Regions from separate parts of the Homo sapiens genome. Here region 1 is linked to region 2. The links are contacts of gene promoters, found by promoter capture Hi-C in blood cells and fetal thymus (Javierre and others, 2016). All regions are on one chromosome and are shown on one strand. The core of a region is centred on a gene start or on the middle of the fragment in contact, and the rest is flanking DNA. Distances in the headings are between cores, read along the strand shown.

Region 1 (2,700 bases), core at 169-2,668, 570 kb before region 2:
GGCGGACGCACGACTCCGTCGGTCGGGTGGGCGCAGGAGAGGCGGCTGGGCCTGCGGAGCCCGCCCCGCATCCTCGCCCAGCCCCTGTCCGAGGCCGCCGGGCACCCCCTCACCATCCCAGTCCCCGAGGCTGCCCCAACCCCGTCCTGTCCCCGTGGCTGCCCCAGCCCGCTCCCCATACCCGGGCGTTCATGGCCTTGTGGTTCTTCTTGGTCTTTTTGAGGAATTGCTTGAGGCTGCCTGATGACACGTACTCTGTGATGAAGATGACCTGCACGGTGCGAGCTCAGGATTTCCACCAGCTGCGGGTTCGTCCCCATGCCCGCCCCACCTAGCTGTGGTCTCTGCCTGCCCGGGGCCTTGCCCGTGCTCACCCTCGCGCAGGCCTCAGAGGTATCCAGCCAGTACTTGTGCAACTTCACGATGTTCGGGTGGTCCACCAGCACCAGCTGCTCGAACACGGTCTGGATCTTCTCCTGGGGAGGGAGGGTGGTCGCTGGGTGGTCAGCAGGTGGTCACCCAAGCAGGATGAGGAGGGGGCAGCGGTCTCACCTCGTGCGCCGCGAAGGCCTTCCTGTCTCCGAAGTGGAGCTCGTTCCACACCACCTCTACCCCCTCCTCCGTGTCCATGGCTAGGAAGGTGCTCTGAAGCCCTGGCATGTTCCCTTGGTTTACCTGGGGGTGAATAAAGGGTTATGTGTGCCCTGGTGTGTGTCAGGGTTGTGGGTGAGGATTTGGTCCCTGTCCACACCTTTCCAGTGGGCCCAAGCGTGGGCTGCAGGCCCTGAGCCACTCTGCGGGAAGGTGGGGCTTGGAGGGTAGCTGCCCCCAGGAGCCAAGGGCTCCTATCCAAGGGCTGGGCTAAGGGGATTTGGAGCAGGTTTCAGGGGGTCGAGGGGGATCCCCAGGAAGCTAGCGGCTGAGTCCAGAGGCATGGGGAGGTGGTCCTGGGAGGAGACTGGCCCTCAGGGAGTCCCAGGGCGAGCGCCAGGCCAAAGGGGTCCAGGGGTGGCTGATTCGCGGGCCGCGAGGGGCCGCGGAGAGGTTTCCAGCCGCCGCGCTCTCCCAGCGCCCCCACGCCCCGCGCAGCCTCCAGGCCCCTCCCGCTCTGGGAGGGCGGTGTCACCCCGTGCCCCAACCCCCGCGCCCACCTGCTCCCGTCGCTTTTGCCAGCGACCACACGGGCTTTCCTCCAGGATGTCGCTCTCGTCCTCGCTCTCGTCCTCCCGCTCCCGCTCCCGTTCCCGGGCCCGCCTCGGCGCCGGCTCCGGGGCCGCCATGGTTCGGCCAGCCCAGGCCACCGCCCTCTGCGCGATCCGCCGCCGGCGCAGCCTCTCCCGGCCCGCCCTGGCCTCGCGCCCAGCAGCCCAGCCTAGAGCCGCCGCGGCAGCCTAGAGCCCCAGCCCCGGCTCTGGGAATTGGGAGGCGCGGGCGCGCGGCGGACGGGCGGGGCCCGGGGGCGGAGCCGGCGCGCACCTCCCGAGCCGCCTGTGCCTGCCGGAGCCAGAGCAGAGCTTCCCCGAGAGCTGCCGAGCCCGGGCCGCGCCCAGGCCCCGCCCCCCCGGAGGCCCCGCCCCGCGAAGCCCCGCCCCAGTCCCTGTTTCCTCCTCGTCTCCCAGGCCTGCTCCGCGAAGCCCCTCCCCAGGCCCTGTCCCCTCCTCGTCCTCCAAGCCTCCTTCGCGAAGCCCCGCCCCAGGACCCGCCCCACCCCCGCGAATCCCCGCCCCGTTTTAGTCCCCGCCCCCGCCCGTTCCCAGGGTCCTCCGCGAAGCCCCACCCCAGGCCCCGCCTCACCTCCTCGAAGCCCCGCCCCTATGAGGCCCCGCCCCGCGCAGAGGAACCGCCCCCAAATCCCCGCCCCCTCGGAGGCCCCGCCCTGCGGACACCTGGAGCCCGGAGCGCCCACTTCTCTCGCGGTTGCTCCCCTAGGATCTGGGGGAAGACCCGGGGCATCTGGGGGCCCCCAAGCCCACGGCACCCTCCAGCTGCAGAAGACCCCGCGGGCTCGAAAGCGGGACCCGCTCTCCTGGCCACGCACTCATTCCCCGGCCGACCCCCAAGGGACAGGTCGAAGGGGCACCGAGGGCGGGGGAAAGGCCCACCAGCAGGCTGACCCAGGCTGACTTTGATCGGTGACCACGAATCTCTCCCTGGCCCGCCCACCAGTGCCTCCTCCCGCCCACAAGCCCATCTTCTCACTTTCCAGGATGGCGATTTTCTCTTTTCTCCTCAAACGCGCATTTCCTTTCCGCGGCTGGCTCCCATGGGACAGTGGAACCATGAGGGGGGAGCCCACCCGGCTCACACGACCTCTCCCTCCGGAGGCCGCTCTAAGCACACCCTCCAGCCACGCCGACCACCGGGGCTGTCCCCGATTCTCACCTAAAACCCCCTTCAGCCCACAGCCCCCACGGCCTTCCTGTGGTCTCCTCCCTCCTTCACGGCGGGTCCTCATCCTTTACCTTCTCTCTCTGGAGCCCAAATTGGAACTCCGCTCCTCCCCTCCGCGCAGCTCCATGCACTGGCCCTTTGGGACGCCTCTTTCTTTCTTTGGCAGAGGTGCATCTGGCCCTGCTGCGTCCCCTGTGGTCTCTCTTTTCTGACCAGCCTTGGTCACCAGGCACCTTGTGTGTGGTTTCCACCAATGCCAGGTGATCCTGCTGAGGCCCTCTGCAGTAAAGGTTTGGGGTGTTCAAATCC
Region 2 (2,700 bases), core at 5-2,504:
TCCTTTGGCCTGAGCTTCTGACCCATCTGCCTGCTGGGTCAGCCCCTATTCACAACCCTCTTGTGGCTCCTCCCTGCTTTGTGGAGAATAGTCCTGACCACGGCCTACCTCCCTCCATCCCCACCACCACATCCAGTCTATACCACGGCCACACTGTGCATGTCTCTCCACCCTCAACTGCTTTGGGCCTGTGCACAGGCTGTTTCTTCTGCCTGGAACACCCTCCTCTCACCATCCCTGGGCCTGGGTAAGAGGTACTCCTCCCTTCAAGAGCAATGGAGAAACTGCCTCTTGCAAGTTGCTTTCCTGGACCAGCTTTCAACCCTCCGGCAACCAAAACACCACTGTATTTCCCAAACCCTTGAGGCGTGTGCCCCACTGTACCAAGACTCCTGTCAACAGTCTGTCCCCATCCTAGACCTGGCCTTGTTCCTTGTGCTACCAATGTCCTTCCCCCGACAAACTCCCGCTCTGCCTCAGACAGGCTCTTCTGATCATGCGACTGGAAATACACAGTCTCCTTCCTTCACTCCTTTATTCCCGCAGCAGCACTTGCTGCAGGGGCAGGTGTGTTTATTTAGATGTTCCCCTTCCCCAAGTGTCTGCAGGTGTGGTTCACATGGTATCTCTGCTACCCAGCGCACAGTGGGCGTTCGCTCCTTCCGAACAACTTGCTGAAAAAACGGAAGAGCAAACAAGACGGCTAGGGCAGCGCGCCCTTCCCGGTGGGGTAGGAAGGGAGGCAGAACAGGGTAGCAGCTGTGAGAAAGGATCTGAGCACAAGAGATTCAGGGTCATGTCCTGGCTCCTCAGGCTGAGGAACGTTAAGCAAATCACTCAACTTGTCTGGGGCTTGGCTCTTCCATCTGCAACCGGGGGCGGTGAGAGCACCCACGTCGCGGACAGCCGGGAGGGCTCCCAGGGCCCGACCTACCTCGGCGTCGCGGTTGAGGCGGTACACGTAGAGCTGCGAGGTCCCGGCCACTACCAGGTTGCGCTCGCTGTTGTTGAAGAAGTTGCAGTACATGGAGAACTCCAGACCGGTGGGCGGATGCGCCTGTTTGTACACGGCGTACATGGCGCCAACCCGGGCTGCGCAAGGCCGGGAGAGGAAGGGTGAGCGGGGTCGCCCACGCAGGAGCCCGGCCCCGCACCGCGCCCCTCCCCGGCCTCGCGCTGCCGCCTCGGCCGCCCGCCCGGCCGCCCACCTGGCAGTTGGAGCCGACTCGAGAGGAACCGGGACAGCAGCGAACTCAGTCCGGCCGGGCCCAGAAGCTGGGCGGGAAGGTTCCGGGCTTCTGCGCCTGCGCAGCGCCGCCGCGTGAGCGTGGCTGCAGGGGCGACAGCGGGCCCTAGTGGCCCGGGATGCGGGCGGCTGGCGGCTCGGCTCCGGGCTGGGCGTCCGGAACCCAAACCCCTAGCGCGCGAAGTGCGGGGCCTCCGCTGCGGGCGGAGCAGCGCGGGTTGGAAGCCGCAGGGGCGCCGGCTGCAGCGGCTCGGGGTCGGCCGGGGGGTGCGTCCGCGCCAGACCCAGGACGGCTGCAGGGAGAAGCGACTCCGCTCGTAGCTCCCGGGTTCAGGGGGCGCGCCGGAATCCAGAAGAGGGGGCGCGGCGCCTCGCCAGTGTCTGGGGCTCCGAGAAAGCTTCCTAGAGAGGCCGCACGCCCCCTCTGCCCAGTGTCCCCGCGCAGAGCGACCCCCGCCGCCAACACTCCCGCGGAGGACGCAGGACCCCGCGAGCCCAGCGCTGTCCGCCCGCCTTGCTCACTGCTGCCTACCCAGGGCGGGCCCAGTGCCAGCTTCCGGGAGCTTGGATCCTGGATCAGGCACGGGCCTAGGACCTAGAAACGGAATCATGAGAAATAAAACAAGAAAGTATCGTTACGCCCAAGAAAATGGCGTGGAAATATGTGTTTTTGTTGCATCCAAATCTACTTGCTCATTGGGCAGTGGGGGAAGGGCCACTTGGATGCTCAGGCGTGTGACCCCTGAGCCACACTCAACCGCCTTTTAAAAGTCAATAGGAGGCGGTGGCTCACGCCTGTAATCCCACTTTGGAAGGCCGAGGTGGGCGGATCACCTGAGGTCAGGAGTTCGAGACCAGCCTGGCCAACATGGTGAAACCCAGTCTCTACTAAAAATACAAAAACTGTGGGGGAAAGAGAGAGAGATCAGATTGTTACTGTGTCTATGTAGAAAAGGAAGACATAAGAAACTCCATTTTGATCTGTACTAAGAAAAATTGTTTTTGCTTTGAGATGCTGTTAACCTGTAACTTTAGCCCCAACCCTGTGCTCACAGAAACATGTGCTGTAATGAATCAAAGTTTAATGGATTTAGGGCTATGCAGGATGTGCCTTGTTAATATGTTTGTAGGCAGTATGCTTGGTAAAAGTTATCGCCATTCTTCATTCTCGATTAACCAGGGACACAATGCACTGCGGGAAGCCGCAGGGACCTCTGCCCAAGAAAGCCTGGGAATTGTCCAAGGTTTCCCCCCACTGAGACAGCCTGAGATATGGCCTCATGGGAAAGGAAAGACCTTACCGTCCCCCAGCCCAACACCTATAAAGGGTCTGTGCTGAGGAGTCGTAAAGAGGGAGGCCTCTTTGCAGTTGAGATAAGAGGAAGCCTTCTGTCTCCTGCTCGTCTTTGGGAATGGAATGTCTCATTGTAAAGCCAACCATTCCCTTTTGTTCT

Evidence for each region. The method cuts DNA at HindIII sites, captures the fragments that hold promoters and counts their contacts. A CHiCAGO score of 5 or more calls a contact.
Region 1: the fragment with the promoter of NRBP2 here is called in contact with the fragment with the promoter of CPSF1 in region 2 in 2 of 17 cell types (M0 macrophages and neutrophils); the score reaches 8.1 in M0 macrophages.

The regions. Positions count from the first base shown.
Region 1 is chr8:143,839,555-143,842,254 of GRCh38, forward strand. It overlaps NRBP2 (nuclear receptor binding protein 2), which reads right to left and starts at 1,419. Exons shown (of 18, transcript NM_178564.4): 1 at 1,152-1,419; 2 at 553-675; 3 at 375-476; 4 at 182-271. The coding sequence starts at 1,280. RefSeq lists enhancers at 1,306-2,036, 2,037-2,700 and a silencer at 1,321-1,880. The HindIII fragment of the contact is 4,061 bases long and covers 1-2,700 here.
Region 2 is chr8:144,408,081-144,410,780 of GRCh38, forward strand. It overlaps CPSF1 (cleavage and polyadenylation specific factor 1), which reads right to left and starts at 1,255. Exons shown (of 38, transcript NM_013291.3): 1 at 1,209-1,255; 2 at 935-1,092. The coding sequence starts at 1,078. RefSeq lists an enhancer at 742-791 and a silencer at 1,062-1,721. The HindIII fragment of the contact is 8,279 bases long and covers 1-1,642 here.